2 separate regions of the Homo sapiens genome follow, and region 2 is linked to region 1. Evidence: promoter capture Hi-C in human tissues and cell types (Jung and others, 2019). All regions are on one chromosome and are shown on one strand. The core of a region is centred on a gene start or on the middle of the fragment in contact, and the rest is flanking DNA. Distances in the headings are between cores, read along the strand shown. Region 1 holds the start of THAP4 (THAP domain containing 4). Region 2 overlaps SNED1 (sushi, nidogen and EGF like domains 1).

What was found. The method cuts DNA at HindIII sites, captures the fragments that hold promoters and counts their contacts. A contact is called where the count stands out against the background at its distance.
Region 2: a contact is called between a fragment that was not itself captured here and the fragment with the promoter of THAP4 in region 1, in 1 of the 25 tissues and cell types used here (dorsolateral prefrontal cortex).

The regions. Positions count from the first base shown.
Region 1 is chr2:241,634,857-241,638,407 of GRCh38, forward strand. THAP4 (THAP domain containing 4) reads right to left here and starts at 2,302. Exons shown (of 6, transcript NM_015963.6): 1 at 2,085-2,302. The coding sequence starts at 2,161. It overlaps ATG4B (autophagy related 4B cysteine peptidase), which reads left to right and starts at 2,837. Exons shown (of 13, transcript NM_013325.5): 1 at 2,837-2,868. The coding sequence starts at 2,859. RefSeq lists silencers at 1,825-1,964, 2,035-2,104, 2,135-2,484, 2,855-2,904, 2,925-3,114 and 1 more and an enhancer at 2,458-3,385. The HindIII fragment of the contact is 20,762 bases long and covers 1-3,551 here.
Region 2 is chr2:241,082,239-241,085,789 of GRCh38, forward strand. It overlaps SNED1 (sushi, nidogen and EGF like domains 1), which reads left to right. Exons shown (of 32, transcript NM_001080437.3): 29 at 39-126. It also overlaps a transcript of MTERF4 not described here. Among named protein-coding and RNA genes, the nearest start is that of MTERF4, 18 kb to the right of the region's middle. The HindIII fragment of the contact is 4,214 bases long and covers 1-3,551 here.

The DNA of each region.
Region 1 (3,551 bases), core at 1,052-3,551:
CTTGAGGACATTATACTGAATGAAATAGGGCAGGTGCAAAAAAACAAACACTGCATGATACCACTCACATGAGGTACTCAGAGTAATCAAATTCATAGAGACAGGAGAATGCGGGTTCCCAGAGCCTAGGGAGAGGAGGACTGGGGTATTAATGTTTAATGAGTCCAGAGATTCCGCTTTACAAAATAAAAATAATTCTGGAGGTGGATGGTAGTGACAGCTGCACAACAACGTGAATGTATTTGTTGCCATGAATTGTACACTGAAAAAGCGGTAGGAAAGGCTGGGAGCCGTGGCTCATGCCTGTGATCCCAGCTACTCTGGAGGCTGAGATGGGAGGACCACTTGGGTCCAGGAGGCTGAGGCTGCAGTGAGCTACGGTCATACCATTGCACTCCAGCCTGGGTGACAGAGTGGGACTCTGTCTCCAAAAAAAGTTAGGATGGTAAATTTCATGTTACATGTATTATACCATAATTTAAAAATGGTGAGAAAAAAGCAACCAGCGCAGGAAGATACTGAATAGGATGTTTAGTCATTTCTTTATTACCTAATAAAGATCCTTCATAACCATTTCTTCATTAAGGCAAACTCTGTGTTTAAGAACATAGGCCTGGGCCGGGCGGGGTGGCTTATGCCTGTAATCCCAGCACTTTGGGAGGCCGAGGCGGGTGGATCACTTGAGGTCAGGACTTTGAGGCCAGAGTTCGAGACCAGCCTGGCCAATATGGTGAAACCCTGTCTCTACTAAAAATACAAAAAAATTAGACAGGCGTGGTGGCGCTTGCCTGTAATCCCAGCTACTTGGGAGGCTGAAGCAGGAGAATAGCTTGAACCCAGGAGCGGGGGTTGCAGTGAGCCGAGATCGCACCAATGCACTCCAGCCTGGGCGACAGAGGGAGACTCCTTCTCAAAAAAAAGAGAAAAAAAGAAAAAAAAACCAGGCCCTAATGTGCACATAAGGGACAGGGTGGTCAGTTCTAACTGCTATTTGCTCCACCTGAGGCCAGTGTGGACCAGGACAAATCCTAACAGGATGGACTGGGCCGTTCTAAGCAACAGGACCTTCTAACCTCCTTTCTGAACACTGTGAGGCCAACTGCAAAGGTACCCCCCCACCCCCAATTCCGATGTCCTTTCCTCCCATACCATGTTAGACCGTTGCAACACGTTGCCTCGTTTTCAAAAAACAATAACAAAACTTCTAGGACACAAGCTCTGAAGGAAATTGTCAAGAAAGTGCGCTGGCTGACTTGTGAAATAATCTAATGTTACTAATTCTTATAATACATTGTAATGATTTAAGACTTACAGCAAACTACTGTGAACTTTCAATAACCCTATAAATAACACGTGCCATTCCCGTCTTTAAAACTTAAATAACACCATGCAACATAAAACAGAAACATCTCCAAAGTGGTTTTTAAAGTCTGTTCGCGGTTCTGGTGCCTCCCGCGTGTAATCCGCAGAAATCTCACTGAAATAGGCTGAACTCACAAGGCCTTAGAGGGGTTTGGGCCCTGCCGCGGGGGCCCACGTGGGAAGCGGCCGAGAGCCCCGGGCCAGGCTCTAAGGGAGCGCAGGAGGATGCCGTCCCCAGCCGGCCGTCCCGTAGACTCTCCGCGCGTACCCGCGTCCTGGGCTCGGGGGCCCAGTCCCGGAAAGCCCTCTCGGGGGCTGTCAGCTACGGAGGCGCAGGTCGCGTCTGCCCGGTCGCTCCTGCTCGCAGACATCCAGGCCGACGGCCCGCGCGGTCCGGAGAGTCAGCAGTCGCGGCCGAGCAGGACAATCGGCCCAGGACCTGCGCTTCCAGAGCGTGCGGCTTCTGAAGCCTAGGCGCCGGCCGGATCGATCGCGCGCAGGGCGGACCCAGGCGGCCGGGGTGGGGGCGGCTGCGCTGCCCGAGGCGCCCGGCCCAGAGACGGCGGCCGGGCCAAGGTCACACAGCGCCCACGCCCGCTCCCCCGCGCCCCGGCCGCCGAGGCCCGGCGCCCCCGCCCCCCGCGTTCGGGCCGGCCGCGGGGCCTCAGTTTCCCCGCAGGGCCGGGTCGGGGCGGGGGCGTGGCGGCCCGGGGCCCGCGTACCTGTGGAAGGAGACGGCGCGCTTCTCGCCCTTTCCCTGCCGGTTGGAGCAGTTCACGGCCGCACAGCAGATCACCATCGCGGGCCTTGGCCCAGCCGCGCAGCCAGGCCCCGGCCCTAGCCGCCCGCCCGCCCGCGGACCGCCCCGAGGGAGGGAGCGCGGCGGCGACACGGCTCGGGACGTGGGCCGGCCCGCGGCGTCCGCGCCGTACGGCAAGATGGAGGCGCAGGCGCCCGCAGCGGGCCCGCCCCCGCCCCAGCCCCCGCCCGCGTCCTCGCCAGCCGCGGGTTCGGGCGTCTTCGGACCAGCGGGGCGCCGCAGGCCCCTCGCAGCGTCCGTCGGCAGGCGGGCAGACGGGCGGGGGAGTCGCCCCGGCGGGGCAAGTCCGTACCGCGACATGGGCGCGCCGAGCACGTCCGTACCGCAAGATGGCTGCTCGGACGGGGACAGAGCTCGCCTCTGCCGCCTCGACAACTGCTCCTGGGTCCTCTAAGAGGAGGAAGCGCCACCCATGGCACACAGTGTCCCGTCGGACAGCAGAACCAGCCGTCGTCCCACGACACGACCCCATGCCGCCCGCAGGGCGCCCCGGGGCTCGCGTCGGCCCGGCCGTACGCCAAAATGGCGGCTCCCGCGTATTTCCGCTCGCGCGCCGTATCGTCTTCGCCGCCTGCGCCGGCACACCTATTGGCCCCCGCGGCGTCCCGTCGCCGCGTCGCGTTGCTGGCCCGTCGGAGCGACGCCGCTCGGGTCAGTCGGCGGCCGGACTGGGAAGATGGACGCAGGTGAGGAGTTGCCGGGGGTCGGTCTTTCCGCAGGAGGTGCTCGCCTTATCATTGGCCTCCCCTGCTCGGGTCGGGCTGCCGCGACTCGCCTCGGGGCACGCCGGTGCGGGCCAGGCTGGGCCGGGGCGGCGGGCGCTGCGGGAGCGCGGGGCGGTGTTGGTGGGTGGTGGGCGGTGGGAGCGGGAGGGGGACGGCGGCGCACTGCGCCGCGGAACCCGCCGTCGGTTGCGCTGGAGCTTCTGCTTTTCCGGTCCCGTCCGGAGCGCTCCGGAGGTTGTGGCTGCACAGGCCCTTGCGCCAGGTCGGCCGTGGAGGGCGGCGGAGCCTGCCGGGCGGGGAGAGGCGCGGCGGCGAACGGGGCGGCCGCGGTCCGGGCCGGGGACGCGAGCGGCGGGCGAAAGCGTAGCCTTTCCGCAGCTGAGCGTGAAGGGATGGAAGCTCTTTAACTTTTATGAAGTTATTGGTAGGTTGGAGGAGAGAAACGTGACGTGTTCATCACAGTATACGTATCTTTTTTGTTTTTGTCTTCAATTTAGTAACCAGTAGATTCTCCAAGCTGCTTTTCCGTGACGAGAAAGAGAAACAGTGAATTTGTATCATCGGGTCTTAGTTTCTTGGGGTCCTAAGAGAGAGAGAAAGAGAAGGAGTGTGTGTGTGTGTGTATAGGGAGTGTTGGTTTTTTT
Region 2 (3,551 bases), core at 656-3,155, 550 kb before region 1:
AGGAGCACCTGGTGAGCCACTGCCCTTCTTTGTCGCAGCCTGTATAAAGGTGTCCCGCCCCTGCACAAGGCTGTTCTCCGAGACAAAGGCCTTTCCAGTCTGGGAGGGAGGCGTCTGTCACCACGTGTAAGTTGGTTTCTGTCCTCCGCCTTACCGCATTTGTCGTGTGTTCTTGACTCCTCAAAGTGCTGTCTCAAAGCTACCCAGCTAACCCTGAGGAGGGACGATGGCTGCAGTCACAGAAGGGACTTGCTTTGACCATCGATTCCCTCCATGTCACAAATTAGGCAGCTGAGGCAGAAAAACCGAATAACTGCCCCAAGTCCATGCAGCTCAGGAGCAGGGGCTGAGAAGAACGCAGGCTCCTGGTCCCCAGGCCCCCAGGCCTTCCTTCCCACACATCAGCCCAGTCCCCACTGGATGGCAGAGCCAACTGATGTGACCTTCCTCTCTTCTCTTCCTCAGAGCCCCCTGGAAAAACAAACAGCTCATGAGAATGCCGGCCCCAGTTCTGCCATTAACTCATGATGTGGCCTTAGGCCCCCCATCTCCAAAATGGGCTGTGGAGGGAGAGATGCCCAGCCCATCTCTTAGGTCCTTTCTTGCTAACACTCTATGACTCTGTCGGTCACACAGTCCATTTAGTCAACAGATGACTTACTGAGCACCTGCTGTGTGCCGGGCACTGTCCATTTAGTCAACAGATGACTTACTGAGTACCTGCTGTGTGCCGGGCACTGTTCTAGATACTCAGCACACATCAGAACAGAGCAGACCAAAGCCCTGCCTTCAGGACCCGTTCATTGCAGATGAGGGGACAGACAACAGACAGCAGTGAGAGTGTGGTGTGTGGTGTGGCAGGTGGTGAGTGCAAAGGGAAAAAGGACGAGATGACAGGACGAGACCAGGAGAGCCTGCTGGGGATGGGCAGGGCTGGTGCAGCAAGAGGGCAGCCTCCTGGGGAGGGCGATGCTGAACAGACATGGAGGAGGGATGGACATTCCAGAGCCAGAGGACAGTTACCAGGGCCCCAAGTCAGGAGTGTCCCTGGCATGTTGGGGGAGAAGTGGAGAGTGGTGAGAGGTGAGGGACAGGGAACCCTCGGGGCCATGGAGACCCACAGAAGGACTCTGGTGTTTGTCCGGCATGAAATGGGGAGGAGCTACTGAAGGGTTCTGAGCAGAAGAGTGACATGTTCGATTACACTACTTTGGATGCTCTGTGGAGAATGGGATGTAGACGGGCAAGGGTAGAAGCTTCATTAGAGCTTGGACATGAAGCCAGGTGTAATATGTAGCAGGAACACATATGAGATACTAATCTGTGTTGGGATTTGGGAAGCCGTGTTGACAGCCCACTGAATTCGGATTCTATGCAGTGAGAGTCCGAATCCACAGTATCTGCCATCTTCCCGCTGTGCTTAGTTACACCAGTGCCTGCTGGTGACCACCAAGTATCCAACAAGAAGACCCTTCACTTCCTGAAAGCATTCTATCCTTTCACTTTTAACCTATCTGCATATTTCAAGTGACTTTCTAGTATTTAACATAGAGGTGGGTCTTGCTGGATATCTAGTCTGACAGTCTGGTTTTTATTGGAGTATTTAGACCATTTACTACCTTCCACATAATGGCTGATGTGGTTGGATTTAAACTGCCATATTACTATTTGTTTTCTATTTTTCCCACCTGCTTTTTGTTCCTTTTTTCTTTTTTCCTGCCTAATTTTGGATTACTTTTTAGGATTCCATTTTGTCTCCACTATGGGCTTACTGGTTATACTTCTTAGGTTTATTGTTTAGAGGTTGCTCTGGGATTTGCCATACACATCTTCACCTTAACACAATGTACCCTTAATTACTATTGTACGAGTTCAATATGATGGCAGCGTCTAGGATTTTTTTTTTTTTTTTTTTGAGACAAAGTCTCCCTCTTGTCCCCCAGGCTGGAGTGCGATGGTGCGATCTTGGCTCATCGCAACCTCTGCCTCCTGGGTTCAAGCAATTCTCCTGCCTCAGCCCCCCGAGTAGCTGGGATTACAGGCGCCTGCCACCACACCCTGCTAATTTTTGTATTTTTAGTAGAGACAAAGTTTACGTAGAGACAGGGTTTCACCATGTTGGCCAGGCTGGTCTCAAACTCATGACCTCAGGTGATCCACCCACCTTGCCCTCCCAAAGTGCTGGGATTACAGGCGTGAGTGACTGTGCCCGGCCAGCAGTGTCTAGGATTTACCATACACATCTTCAACTTCACGCCGCATACCTTTAATCACTAGTAGACAACTTCAGTATCCATGGCAGCGGCTGACATCAAGCTTCCACTTCCCTCCCATCCTTTGAATTATTATCAGACTTTTTCCTTCCACATATGCTGTGAACTGCACTATACGTTATTTTTGCACTCAAAAATTATCTTGTTTTAGATATTGAAAGTAAAGTATTTTGTATTTATTGTACATCTGCCTGCCGACTCCAGCACTCTTCATTCCTTTTTGTAGATCTAGGATTCCATCTGGTATCATTTCTCTTTGCCATAAGAACTTAACTCTAACATCTCCTATAGCACAGGTCTGCAGGAGATGAATTCTCTCTGCTTTTGTCTGAAACTATTTTTTTTTCACCTTCATTTTTGAAGAATATATTTGCTGAATATAGACTTCTTGATTGACAGTTATATTTTTTTCTTTCATGACTTAAAAGTTGTCATGGCTTTGTCTTCTGGCTTGCATAGTTCCAGACAAGAAGACTGCAGTCATTCTTACCTGTGTTACACTGTATGGAATGTGTCTTCCTGCCCCTTTTATGTTTTCCCTTTATGACTGTTTTTGGACAATTTAATTATGATGTGCTTCTCGGTATGGCTACGTTTTGATTCTCTGGAGTTTAAGCTTCTTGTATTTCTGGGTTTTAATTTTGTCAAACTTCGTAAAATTTTTGCCATTATTTCTTCATATATTTTTCCTGTCCCTCCATTTCTTCTACTTCTGGGACTCCAGTTATGCGTGTATTAGACTGATATTGTCCCACAGGTCACTGCAGCTCTTCTCAACTTTTTCAGTCTTTTCATTTTGGACAGATTCTATTGCTATGCACTCAAGGTCATTGATCTTTTCTTCTGCAGCATCTACCATTAATCCTGTTCAACAAAAGTTTTATTAATACTGTGTTTTATCATCTCCAGAAGTTTCATTTAGTTGTTTCTTAGATGCTCCAATTTCTATCTTCATTATCTTTATATTTTCCTTTAGCTCACTGAACATGTGGAACAAATTTATAATAGATATTTTAAGGTCCTCATCTGCTATTTCTGTCATCACTCTCATGTCTGGGTCTTATTCTATTTGATTATTTTTCTCTAGGTTATGGGTCACTTTTTTGATTATTCAAATGATTCTTGAATGTCTTATAGTTTTTTATTGGATGCTGGGCATTGTAAGTTTTATGTTACTGACGCTGGATTTGTTTGTTTGTTTGTTTTCTTTTCAAGAATGTTTTTTCTCTGCAAGGCATTATCTGAGTATAGTTTGATCCTTCTGAGGCTTGTTTTAGG